3 separate regions of the Homo sapiens genome follow, and regions 2 and 3 are each linked to region 1. The links are contacts of gene promoters, found by promoter capture Hi-C in blood cells and fetal thymus (Javierre and others, 2016). All regions are on one chromosome and are shown on one strand. The core of a region is centred on a gene start or on the middle of the fragment in contact, and the rest is flanking DNA. Distances in the headings are between cores, read along the strand shown. Region 1 holds the start of ANKHD1 (ankyrin repeat and KH domain containing 1). Region 2 holds the start of IGIP (IgA inducing protein). Region 3 holds the start of MALINC1 (mitosis associated long intergenic non-coding RNA 1).

Evidence for each region. Contacts are between HindIII fragments. The CHiCAGO score rates a contact against its expected background, and 5 or more counts as called.
Region 2: a contact is called between the fragment with the promoter of IGIP here and the fragment with the promoter of ANKHD1 in region 1, in 1 of 17 cell types (M0 macrophages). The highest score is 5.5, in M0 macrophages.
Region 3: the fragment with the promoter of MALINC1 here is called in contact with the fragment with the promoter of ANKHD1 in region 1 in 7 of 17 cell types (non-activated CD4 T cells, fetal thymus, neutrophils and 4 more); the score reaches 9.3 in non-activated CD4 T cells.

The regions. Positions count from the first base shown.
Region 1 is chr5:140,399,003-140,403,103 of GRCh38, forward strand. It overlaps ANKHD1 (ankyrin repeat and KH domain containing 1), which reads left to right and starts at 2,831. Exons shown (of 34, transcript NM_017747.3): 1 at 2,831-3,271. The coding sequence starts at 2,966. ANKHD1-EIF4EBP3 (ANKHD1-EIF4EBP3 readthrough) reads left to right here and starts at 2,831. Exons shown (of 36, transcript NM_020690.6): 1 at 2,831-3,271. The coding sequence starts at 2,966. It overlaps ANKHD1-DT (ANKHD1 divergent transcript), which reads right to left and starts at 2,399. Exons shown (of 2, transcript NR_186045.1): 1 at 2,109-2,399. RefSeq lists enhancers at 1,425-1,574, 1,665-1,814, 1,905-1,954, 2,145-3,034. The HindIII fragment of the contact is 10,874 bases long and covers 1-4,101 here.
Region 2 is chr5:140,123,587-140,128,158 of GRCh38, forward strand. IGIP (IgA inducing protein) reads left to right here and starts at 2,351. Exons shown (of 1, transcript NM_001007189.2): 1 at 2,351-4,572. It overlaps PURA (purine rich element binding protein A), which reads left to right. Exons shown (of 1, transcript NM_005859.5): 1 at 1-2,033. The HindIII fragment of the contact is 9,298 bases long and covers 115-4,572 here.
Region 3 is chr5:140,105,045-140,109,325 of GRCh38, forward strand. It overlaps MALINC1 (mitosis associated long intergenic non-coding RNA 1), which reads right to left and starts at 2,968. Exons shown (of 4, transcript NR_102741.1): 1 at 2,365-2,968; 2 at 1,252-1,446; 3 at 543-718. It overlaps LOC124900193, which reads right to left and starts at 4,225. Exons shown (of 4, transcript XM_047417990.1): 1 at 2,740-4,225; 2 at 1,252-1,417; 3 at 543-735. The coding sequence starts at 3,941. The coding sequence ends at 3,015. RefSeq lists enhancers at 2,068-2,167, 3,278-3,779 and silencers at 2,698-2,767, 2,798-2,857, 2,868-3,127. The HindIII fragment of the contact is 3,432 bases long and covers 710-4,141 here.

The DNA.
Region 1 (4,101 bases), core at 1,581-4,080:
AAACACTATCCTTTACATGTGAAATGTCAAAATGAGCAATTACTAAGCCAAAGAAATGTTTATGATATTCAAAATGTTTTTTAAATAAATGTTTGGCAGAATCAACTTTTAAAGTTATTTTAAAAATCATTATATTCTTATAAAATTTTAAGATCCCAGTTTAAGGATGACGAAATATTAAATATTGCACAGTTGAGATATATAAAGGCCTTTGTTAAAGTTGTAAGAGAGGAGAAAATGACTTTTTTTTTTTTTTTTTGAGACTGAGTCTTGCTCTGTCGCCAGGCTGCAGTGCAGTGGTGCGATCTCGGCTCACTGCAACCTCCGCCTCCTGGGTTCAAGCGATTCTCTTGCCTCAGCCACCCGAGTAGCTGGGATTACAGGCACGCGCCGCCACACTTGGCTAATTTTTGTATTTTTAGTAGAGACGGGGTTTCACCATGTTGGCCAGGATGGTCTCCATCTCCTGACCTCGTGATCCGCTCACCTCTGCCTCCCAAGGTGCTGGGATTACAGGTGTGAGCCACTGCGCCCGGCCATTTTTTTTTTTTTCAGCCAAATTCTGTTATCATATGGACATTCTCTGGGTCAAAGGATATTTTCCATACAAACCACCAGACTCCTTTTTTGGTCATGTCTGATTAAAGGATTAGATAGAAACCGTTTTTTTTTTATTTTTTTAATTTTTTTAGACAGGGCACCGCTCTGTTGCTCAGGCTGGAGTTCAGTGGCACGATCTCGGCTCACTGCAACCTCCATCTCCCAGGCTCAGGGGATCCCTCCCACCTCAGCCTCCTGAGTAGCTGGAATTACAGGCATGCACCACCATGCTCGGCTAATTTTTTTTTTTTTTTTGAGACGATGTGTTGCTCTGTCGCCTAACCTGGAGTGCAGTGGCACGATCTTGGCTCACTGCAAACTTCGCCTCCTGGGTTCAAGTGATTCTCCTGCCTCAGCCTCCCGAGTAGCTGGGATTACAGGCACGCACCATCACATCTGGCTAATTTTTGTATTTTTAGTATAGACGGGGTTTCGCCATGTTGGCCAGGCTGGTCTAGAACTCCTAACCTCAAATGATCCGCCCACCTAGGCCTCCCAAAGTGCTGGGATTAACAGGCGTGAGTCACCGCGCCGAGCCCAATTTTTGTATTTTTGGTAAAGACGGGATTTCACCATGTTGCCTAGGCTGGGCTCGAACTACTGGGTTCAAATGATCCGCCCGCCTCAACATCCCATAGTGTTGGGATTACAGGCGTGAGCCACGGCGCCCGCTATAGAATCTGAATATTTTTAACCCCCCTCTTTACTGACAAGATAAAGACAGAGATAGAGAGATGCATATAGGGAGGAAGAGATCTCCTTAGAGGAGGGAAGACCACCACAGCTAGCCTTGTTTTGCACCACACAGATCTGATTAGAACTAGAATTAGTTGGGCTGGCAGGACCCAGGGGCGAGCAGAGAGTTCCTGAAGGAAGAGGAGACAATAACTAGCAAAAATGAGTCTTTCCTGTAAGTTTGGGACTTTGCTAAGCGCTATATTATCATCTAATTTATTCATAACAACAACCCAATGAGGAAGGTACTAATATTACTCCCATTTCACAGAGGAGCGAGTTGAAAGTCACAAAAATGAAACAGCAAACGCGCCGAAGTCAGGCAGCAAGTAAGTGGCAGCACCAGAACTCGAAACTGCCTCGGAGCATGCACTCTTCACCACCCCGTTCCACCTTGAGGTCGGATTCCGCACGCCGTTCGCGGCATTCCCACCTTCCTACGTGGGACAGTTCCCGGTACTGAGGCATGGCGCTGTCCAGCCCTCAGGCCCGCAGCCGTCCGCAAGCAGGAGAACGCGGCCCCGCTGGGCGATCCTGCCCGAAGGCGCCCGAACTGCGGCGCGCGGCCGGGTCCTGGCGGGCGGGTCGAGTCTCCCCAAGGCGGCCATCCCAAGCAGCTCCCCGGATGTCCCTCAGACCCGCGCGCTAGGCTCAACTCAGAAAGGCGGGAGGCGCGAAGCGAGATCGGCCTTGCCCCTCGACTGTCCCCTCATCGCTCCCCGTCCTCTATTCCCTCCCAAATAGCCCCCGGCAAATAGGTTACACATCTTCACCTGTCCCAGAGGTGGTGACTGCTCTAGTGACTGACGCTACGCTCCTCCAACCAGGCAATGGCAGGAAGGTGGAGCCTTCCTAAGACTGATGGCTTCCTTTCTCCAATCCCGGTGCAGCTATTCTCCGGCCATAGTCTCGGCGCCCAGCGGAGAGCGACAGGTGGGAGCTGCGTTACTTCGGCGCCTCTTGCATCCTTGACGTAGAAGTTTCACCAAGCGCAGGGTGAAGTCTACTCCAAATTTGACCAATTCTTGCGGGTCATCACTTCAGCAGTCATTTTATTCAGAAGTGGAAATTTCCCGGCCCTTTCCCGTCACCTCAGATGAGGGCGGGATCAATGGTACTCCCACAGGCCAATTGTACCACGCGACGTCCCGCGACAAAGTGACCGACACTTTATGGCGCCAATGAATTCTCCCATTGTTCGGGGTCACTATGACTGACCACAAGGCCAACTAATCCACTTTAAGGTCGTGACGCGATAGTCAGGCGGGTTGGCCAATAGACATAGGAAAAGAGCGGAAGTCAGCTGGTGAAGAGTGGGAGGCGGGTGTTCGCAACCGCCTAGGCCTGCGCGGGTCAACGCAGCTTGGCGGCTGCGAGCCAGCGAGCGGCGCGTGACGAAGAGCCTGAGCGACGGGTCACTTTGGCCAATGATCTGCAGCCGCCAGGGTATTGCAGCCAGTGGCGAGTCGAGGGGGCGGGAGGCAGCAGGTTAGGCAGTGAGAAGTTAGTGGCGCTGCTGGGACGGGGGAAAGGAGACGCTTCTTCCTCTTGCTGCTCTTCTCGTTCCCGAGATCAGCGGCGGCGGTGACCGCGAGTGGGTCGGCACCGTCTCCGGCTCCGGGTGCGAACAATGCTGACTGATAGCGGAGGCGGCGGCACCTCCTTTGAGGAGGACCTGGACTCTGTGGCTCCGCGATCCGCCCCAGCTGGGGCCTCGGAGCCGCCTCCGCCGGGAGGGGTCGGTCTGGGGATCCGCACCGTGAGGCTCTTTGGGGAGGCCGGGCCAGCGTCGGGAGTCGGCAGCAGCGGCGGCGGCGGCAGCGGCAGCGGTACGGGCGGAGGGGACGCGGCGCTGGATTTCAAGTTGGCGGCTGCCGTGCTGAGGACCGGGGGTGGAGGTGGTGCCTCTGGCAGTGACGAGGACGAAGTGTCCGAGGTAAGGCTCCGGGACCCTCGCCTCCCACACATTGTGAGGCGTGAATTCTCTTTGGGTAGGCTCTGGGCCGGGGCCATCCTCCCGCTTCCCTGGTGGAGCCCTTCTGTGACAGCGGTCGGCTCCATGGCGGCGGTGGCCGCGGTGAGGGCCTAGTGAGCCCTCGGCTTACTCTTTAGCTCGAGCGGGACAGGTTCCCGTCACCATTCGTAGACCCACAATAGGGAGTCCTTTGGTCTCTGAGCTTCGCGCGGGAACAGGGACTCCTCAGGCTGCCTCCCGCCCACCCTGCTTTGGAGTTGGGGGTGGGGGGCGGGGTCTTGCCAGAGTCCCTGCCCTTGGTACTGAGAGAGACAAACAGAGACAGAGACAGAGCTGGTGCAAAGATCGTTTCTCTTCTTTGCCTCTCCTCAGAGTTGAGGGATACGTTTATTTGCCTTCTGCCTTGTGTGTGTCTTACCTGTGTGCTTAAGGACGGTTCTTATTCTCCCTCTTCAGTTTGAGACAGGTTTGAGTATTAGGGATCTCTCGGCTTTTACCCTGAAAAATCACGTGACTCCTCCTTCTGGGACCTTTTGTGAAGTTAGACAGGAAAAGGAAGTTCCAGGGCATCCCTGAGCTTCGGAATAGCTGGGTAGCTGAACTCGGAGGTTTTAGGCTTGGAGAAAGTGGGGCAACCTGTGGAAACCTCTTCTTTTTTTTTTTTTTTTTTTTTTTTTTGAGATGGAGTTTCGCTCTTGTTGTCCACGCTAGAATACACGTGATCTCAGCTCACTGCAACCTCCGCCTCCCGGGTTCAAGCGATTCTCCTGCCTCAGCCTCCCGAGTAGCTG
Region 2 (4,572 bases), core at 1,101-3,600, 280 kb before region 1:
AGCTGTATAAAACAAAAATTTGTTCTGATAAAATTTTTAATATGGGCCTTTATTTGCCAATAAAATCCTTTGTAAATGTGAGCTTTATTAAACTGTTTAAATAGACAAAGTTAAAGCTTAGGATAGGGAATATATATGTATGTGTATATGAAATGATGTCTTCGAGTTTTAACTTCCAGCCTGAGATGGCCTAGATTTGGTGTGTTAGTTTGTTTCACTGAAGTCAGTGAGATAGGAGTCTAGCTGGGTACATGCTTAAAAAGCTGGAAGTGAAGTGGGTGGCAAGTGGCAGCTCCCTCTTTCATGTAGTTTTCCATAATGTTCATATAGTTTCCTTATGGTCTAAGTGTTACAACTGGTTTTCAAGTTGTTATATTGAATATTCCTTTTTGGAATTCAGGGTTGAATCACTTTGAGGGGGAAGGGAAGCAAGGGCAAGAGACTTTATTTTAACCAGATGCGGTCTTATGACCTCAAAGATGTGCTCTAGAAAGAAAATAACAAAAAGTGTACCTGTGAACATATTTTTTGTCTTGGTGATATTATGCAACACAGTGTTCAGAATTGCAAAAAAATTTAAAAATTGATAGTTTTATCAATGGAACAGAGAGATGTGTTTTTGGCTAAAATTATTTTTTGTAAGTTATTTGGTTATTTCATTTTATATTCCCTTTCCCATAGCTTTGTACACACCTCATACTTAAAACCAAGTGAGAGGCCTCTTTTCAGATCTGGTTTATTTTTGGAATGCCTGAGTGTGTTTCCAGATTGGGGGGGGAGAGGTGGTGTTTTACTTTTTGACATGCTCTTAGCATGTTTTGCTAGTCATTCTGGATCTTATGTTTGCAAATTCTGTTGAACATTCAGTGATGTATTTGAAATGAGAAAGTCCTTTATAACATAGTGTGAATGTTTGTGGCCAATTCAATTGTGGAATCTTATGGCTTTGTTTTTACTTTGGGTAGAAGTTTAACTTCCATTGTTCAGATTTTAGGTTTATCTAGTGAAATTGTGCCAGGTAGTTGTCTAAATATGGACCAATTTTGGGAAATGAAGATTAATAAGTGTATATTTGATTCTAGATAATCCTTTACTCAAAATCATAAGTTAAAGATTCACATCATTAAGAGTTATCTAACTTTTATGTTGTCAAATCTTTAAATGTGGATGATATTCAGCATTCTATCTATGAATTTCCTTTAGGAAAAGAGAAAAATTCAGTCTCCAAACCTTTTCTTGGAGACAAAATTTACCACATATCGAAAATGAAAAAAATTTAGAAAGCGATTTGATTATTTTTTAATGGAGTTTAACCAGCTTAATTAATGATTTTTCCAGTTTGAAGCACTTATTTTCCCAATGTGAATAAAGGGAAAAGATCAGCAATTTGTCCCTGGCCTTTTTCGAGGCCATTTTTAGTTTTCTGCCCCCATTTCCCAGTCCTGGTATAAAATGAATTACGGGTATCCCTCTAAGTCCCTATAACCCTTTTTGGGGGTCACAGATATCTTTGATAATCTGATGACAGTGTGATGGATCCTCTACCCAAGAAAAAAAAAATGCCCATCCCTGGATAATTTTGCATACAACTTCAGGGGCATCACACATCTTCTGAAACCCAAGTTAAAGATCTCTGCTCTAAGTAAATTGTAGAGAATTTTAGTGCAAATCGTTGATAAAATTAGGAACCAACTATTGGCTTAAAACCTTTCATATTGGAATTATTGTTAGATGGTGGCCCCTACTAGCAAAATGTGACATTGCAACCAGCTTCGTTAGACATTATAACAACCAGAGAGAAGGGAAAAAAGCAAAGTTCTGAAAGCTATTTATAAGGAGTCAGGGCATCTCTAGACATGGGAGCCTTCCTGGTTCAAGGCAGGGGTCAGGGTGCCTGACAATTTCTAGCAGGGTAGAGTTTGATAAACCACAATGCTCAGGATGCCAAGGGGTTAGCCATTATCTTAACCCCTTCCTCACCAAAAGATTTTAGTTTTGTCTGTTGGGAAACAAGATGTCACTAGGGAAAAAAAGATTTGCCTTACAACTTTGCTGGAACACATCAGTTTGGTGACGTTGGGACACTAGTGTTATTTTTGAGAAGGCGCATAAAACCAAAGTAAATTATTCTCTATGTAGAACATTTATTTACTAGTAACATTTGTTTGCGTGTATTCGCTTTGACAATTTTTACCAGTAAATATTGGTTTTATTTAAAACTGGGAATCCAGTTGATATATAGGATAGTTGATACATCTGTTCTTTCCCCCATGTAAAGCATAGTTAAAAGATTTATGCATACTTTTTACTTTTCTCTCTTAATGCCATGGGGTGGGGAGGGTGGGTGGGGGAAAGATTTTTGAGTCTACAACTGACAAAATGTCTTCTTCAAATTAAAAAAAATTGAGAAGCAGCACTTTAAGTCTAACTCTACACCATTTTATTGCATGTATTAGTTTTATTAATGATTTTTGGTGCATGCCTTTGGGCTTATTCAAAAGTGTACAATAGGAAAGTATATTTCCTTTCTTAGAAAGGAGATGTTTTCTACTTTGCAACATGTGATTACAAAAATCTTCCTCTGTGGGAAGATTAACCATGTATTGAACTACTGAAAAGTATATATTTTTAGATATACAGAAGGAATCTACATGGAGCAGCATTCAGACCTATATAGAAGTCATAGCATTCTGTATAGGACCAAAAAGGAAATAACATTAAACACTTAAACAGACGTTGTTGGGTAGAAATACCTTTAGATCTTGCATTTACTTCCAAAAAGAAAAAATGCCACAGAAGTTTGCTGAAAACTTTTGTCGTTTGAATTTTCTCTGTCAGTGTATTTAGCCCAAATACAACAGCTTTGGGTTAGCACACACATAAGAATCAAAAAAACAAAGCTCACTAAATAAATCAGTCTGGTTTGCCAATCCAGCTTGACTGAAATAAGTAAACCAATCACTTGCAACATGAAAAACTGTCCAACTCCTCTAAGGTTCTGACAAAATAACCTTGGCTGATGTGGGAAGACTCCCACTTTGATTACTGACCTGACAGTGAAGATTCATGCTTGACATGATTTCAGACTTGACAATGTCTGTTTAAGGAGCTATGGTACAGTTTGCTAATTCAATCCCAGATACCTGTTGATTACCTGTGAGATCTAGAGTCCAAAGTAGCCAGCAGCCATATCCCTGAGTGCTCTGTGCCCATCAGATATCTTAAAGTAAGCAGGGTTGGGACAGGTCACAGCTTGGATGATTGACCTCAGGTGCCGTAGACAGCCCCAGATTCAAGAATTGTATCTGCTTTCTTGGCAGTCGTCACTGAACTAATGTCCCATACTGTGTTACTTACTGTAGATGCTCTCTTTTAGAGGAGGCCCAGAGCACACATCCTAATCGCTAGCGGTACTCAGAGAGGGGGTGCTAACTCTGATGCCCTGGCCAAATTCCAGTTTAGGGATGTGGGTCTTCTTCTTGTCATTCTAATTGGAAATGTGCATCACTTCCCATTTTTCTTACTGATCTCAGTGCAAACTACACTAGTCTGTTTCTTTGCCCTGGTCTCAAGTCTCTAAGACGCTGGTGTGTATTATGTGGGCTAAGTTCATGTGTTATCCTAAGGCACAAGAGTTGAGGAATGGGTGAGCTTGGTGTCAGAGCACTGTGTGGTTGGAGGGTGGACTCTTGTGATGCTGTGGGGATGAAATTGGCCCTCTTTTAGCATAAGTTGGGGAGTGTGCACTGGCTGGAGGCTTCCAGAGGCTTCCAGCCATGAGGTGTGAGCTGAAACCAATTTTTCCTCTTTCCTTATAGCATGTTGAGAAAATCTGTTGGGTTTTCAGCAGTCAGGGAAGGCCGGAGTTCTGCTTTAATCTGGGTAACTGAGGCTAATATGAGCAAGACTTTGGTTAATTAACTGGGTTCTCAGATGCCACAGACTCCGTGAGAAGTCACCATTATTTTCAATGGTTGTGATAGAATTTCCCCCAGTAGCCATTATTTTAAGATTATATTGCAGAGTTGCTTTATTTTGAGCTTTTTGTGTATACACAATCCCAAACTGGAAGAAATTTTAAAAAAAGGAATCCTGCTGTGAAAGGTATATATTACTCTAGATTTTTCTTACTGTAAATATTGTAAGATTGTAATACTGTCGATATTTTATTAACCAACAAATGTTAATCTATGTGAAATCAGACTTATTTTAAATGTGCTTCTTATTTACTGTGTGTGGTCCCTGTTGCTGACAGTATTAAGTTATATTCTGATGTAAGATTAACTTTATTAAAGAATGTAAACATTAATGTTTCCTTATGGGAAAACAAATAAAGTATAAAGAAGACAATTCTTTTCATTGAAATATACTGTGTATTTACACTTGCTAGACCCAGCACCACTTATAAATTTAGTACACTGTTCAGAATTTTAGTTAACACAGCTGACATGGTTGTGCTCTGTTTGAAAGTCTAAGAATAGGTATTGTTGGAATATACAGTTTGTATTTGTCTGCTGTGAATCATAATCTTGAAATTTCTAATCAAGTTTGTAAAATTTTTATAGTGAAACA
Region 3 (4,281 bases), core at 1,718-4,217, 290 kb before region 1:
ACTAGATAAATGCCTGAGGAACCACTTCACACCCTAAACACGTGCAAACTTTGTTCAACAGAACATTTTACTGCCAAAATGGAGTTGGCAGAAGTTTGGAGCAAAGGCCCCCAGGCTGCATGATTTGTTGGCACCAGACAGCTTAAAAATCTTAACATAATACTGCAGAGTTTGAGTACTACCAATTTGCTTGAGACTCCTCCTCCAAGTTTGACTTGAGATAGATGGAAGACGCCATAAAGAAAGACTATTAACACTTCATCCTCTATCCAGAAATGCTTTTATTTCTCACTCCTGATTGTCATACCTCTATATTCCTTGGTGGTTGTATTTACACGGTAAATCAAATGGAGTCTATTTTGAAATGCATATAAATTCAATTGTATTGTGTTGCTTGGATAAAGGGACACAGGGAGAACTACTATAAATACATAAAATTAATTATGACAAAGTTCTACTTAGAAAACACTTGATCCAAATAACCCCCATATATCACAATTTTTTACCCTAAAAATGTGGGAGAAATTAAGATACAGAATTACCTGTAAATTGCTACCATTTTACATTTGGTTCAGCTTGTCTTCTCACTTCTGTAAGTCTGAATGACGGTAGTTTATCTTGTATGTGAACAATTTAGGAAAGCCAGGAAAGAAGCCAAGTAGAGTTCTCTTCAACAAGGGTCAACAATAAAGTCTTGGAAATCTTCATAAGCTTGATGCTGTTAATTAGGAAAAACTGCATCGGAATTTTTAAATTACAGTTGAGTACAAGCAACTATATAACTAGCAACTTCGAACCTGTAAATGCTTGATAAATATGCAGTACTGAGAAAGGATGGTTTGCTTTGGAAGGTTATCTTGTCCTATGTTTCAATAAAAGACAAGGTTTAAAGAGATGCTACTTGCTCCTCATACACCTAAAAAACTTTTTTCTTGAAACTTTCTAATGTTTTCCCTCCGTAGCTCCATGTATTTTATTAATGTGTCTGATAGCCTTTGTTTTTCCTCCTCTAGAACCTCCAAGTTTTCTAATTCTCAGCTATGATTTTAGATCATTAAATCACCAGTTTCTAATCTCCACAATACAGTTGGAAACATTTAGGACAGAATATCCTTTAGGATATTAAGATGCAGAAGACTGTACTTCGAAGGATATTTATATAGTAGTGCTGCCACCTAAAGATGAGGTGAATATAAAGAAGCAATTCAAAGGAAATGACCCATCACCCTTAAGCCAGTCTCATTTTCTCACCTCCAGCTAGGAATTAATAAGCGTGTTGCTGTTGTTGTTGTCATTAACAGGGAAGTTGAACTGTTTCGCAATCACTTATTTCTGAGCTTTAATCCTCTGTGCCAGATAATTTCAGACTCAAACCTTTTCTAGTCCTCTGCGATTCTTCTCAGCCATCAGGCACTGCCTACAATACGTAAGAGGCAGCAAAAGATACTTGGAAAAAAACAATTGAGAGATTTCTGGTTTAGTGAATAAAGCAGGCAATAATAGACCTTAGAGTTTTCCCTTTATCAGTGATAGACTCCTCACAATGCTGAACAACTGACTTACATTTTGATAACTAAATTTTCATCTGTAAAATGGGAGTAATTATACCTTAGTCCTACTTGCCTCGCAGGCTCAACTAGATATGCTTCTGGGAAAGATTCTCTAACAAGTGAGTTTAAAAGTCTACCACTGCCTAACAAAGAGGGATTTTGTGGTATATTTGCAAAGTAACTTCAAAACAAAATAGTTAAATAGGTTGAGGCAATGATTAAGTTTTCCTAAATCACAGTTTGACTTCTCGGAGGTCTATTTAAATAATGATAAAGATGATAAATGCAGTTTTTATTTTGCTGCAGTTATTAGCTGATCCACGTTCCATCTACGTATTCAGTGTTGCAGGATGGAGACGTGACAGCGTAGAAAGCGAGCAAAAGCGTTACCGTGCACCAAAAATCTTGTCAAACTTGATACGATTTCAAGAAGACTGTCTTAAAGGACATTTTATAATTTCACATTTAGCCCTTGCATAGCATTTTATGAAAATTAACTTTTACCCTTTCCCCCTCGGCCCAAGGAAGTCGCATTCCCTCAAAGGGGCCCGGCTTCAACATATTACACTGCGTGGGAGGCTGGGCAGCAACCCCACGCTTCCTGTCAAGGATTCCTGGGGCCAGAGCCTGAAAAGTGCTCTAGCCACTCTTCTCTATGCTAATTCTGTCCTTCCGACCCCTCTTGGCGGGTGTCTGAGGGCCAAGGTGAGACTTTCCCCGGAGATGAAAGGCCTATTGCCTCTTCAGAGACCCGGGCGGAGTTGGGGCGGGGGTGCCGCGTGATAGGGTGGTAGCAGAAGTCGCAACGACGCACAGGGCCCTAAGTTGGAGCTGGCGCAGGCCCTTCAGGGTTCTATCCCCGCCAGAGCCTGGCTTCGGCCTTCAGAAGCCAAACGAGTAATAGGTCCTTCTGGGGCGCTGTGGGCGGTGGGTGGAGGAAGTGTGGGCGGAGAGGCCACAGACATCCCCCTCCTCAGACGCGCCCCAAGGCCTGGCCCGCGGAATGTTGACGCGCCAGGAGCCGATAGGGCGCGCTCACGCGCGAGAAGGGGGCGGAAAGAGCGCGCTCGGCGGCCGCCGCGGCGGCAGCTAAAACGGAGGGACGCGAGAGCGAAGGGCGCGAGCCACGGAGTTGGGAGGAGGGGTGGGGAACGCGGAGCGCGCGCTGACGTCGCCTGGAGTCACGCACGGAGCGCCGGGTTACGCGCCGACGTCTGGCTGCCACGACTTGCCGTCTGCGGCGGCGGCGGCGGCGGCGAGCGGATCCCGCAGGGGAAGGAGGAGGAGGAGGGAGAGCCAAGGGGGCTGTGAGTGAGCGGGAGAAGCAGGGTGTGAGCCGGACTTGCCCATGGGAGGGAGAGCGAGCGAGAGCCGAGCCAGCCATCCGAGCCGCCTCCTCCTCCTCCCCTCGGCGTCCCGCCCCCGCCCGCCAGCCCGCCCTCCTTCCTCCTCAGCCCGCAGAGCCTAAGTGAGGCGCAGCTCGGCTAGCGCCGCTGTCCAGGACAGGTGTGCGCGCGCGCGCCCTCCTCCCCTCCCCCCTTCCTCGCGCCTGTCTCGCGCGCGCCCTCCCTCCCGCCAGCCTGCGCCCTCCCTCACCTGCGGCAGGACAGCGCCCGCCCGCCCGGGTAAGCCCCTCGCGACCTTCCCTGCTGCCACTGCCACAGCTCCAGGTGACGCTCGCCCCGTCCCCTTTACTTGCTCTCTCAGCCCAGGAATAATTATAGTACCATTGCAGACATCCCCGCACCCTCCCTCTTGGAGACCCAGGCGGTGCAGCAACGTTCTCTCCCACCCCCCGCAGCGAGAAACGAATGAACCCCCTCCTACTTTCAAAAGAGAACAAAATAACACGCCCCTTAAGAAAAGAGGCGATCCTACCTCCGCAGGCGCTGGAGACCACCAGTGATGCGTTTGCTTAGCAATCCCTGAGCCCCATTTCCCCTGGCCGCCTTCGCCCTGGGGCCTGGGACTGTGCGCTAGACGTGGCTGACACTCCCTGCACGGCAACCCTGGAAGGAGGGAGAGGAAGGAGAGTTCTATAACCCAGGCTTCACTGCCAACCCCTCCTCTGTTCGGTTCCCCCCACCCCACTACCACCAAATGCATACACCCGCCCAGGATGCGTTGTAAAAACAAAACAAAACCAGGAAAAAAAAAAAAAAAACCTTTGGTGCTGACATCGCAGATGAAGCCGGGCCCAAAGATGGGTGGCCCGAACAAGGCATTTTTACTGCCCCACAGCGCTGGGTCAGCTCCACAGCTCCTCTGCCTTTGTCCGAGGGCAAAAGGAACGGATGTGAAGCTGAGGGGTCTTCTCTGTGAGCGGCGGTGGGCCCCGGAGGCGGGCTGTGATGTTTGTAGGGGAAGGCACCCAACCAATATATCTGCCATAAACCTGAACTTGGGTTGGAGAGCCCCCAGAGACTGGCTGGGGTAACTGGTTCGTAGCTGTCTACCCCGGAATAAATGCCACCTTCTTTTCCGCGGTGTCTGCGGGACCCTCTGTTGGGGGTTCTAATTCGTTTTGGCCTGGGCTCCTTACATTTCTGTCCGGCCAGGCGCTTTTGGACAGCTTTTCGCAGCGGTGTCTAAGCTTGTGTTCGGTGTCCTTGGAAGGGAGGTCCCAGAGCTTTACAATAGGCTGGATTTGGTTTGACATCTTTTGGTGGACTGTCAAAGGGGAAAGGAAATTTTTGGATTACTTCAAGATCCCCCACCGCCCCCGCCCAAC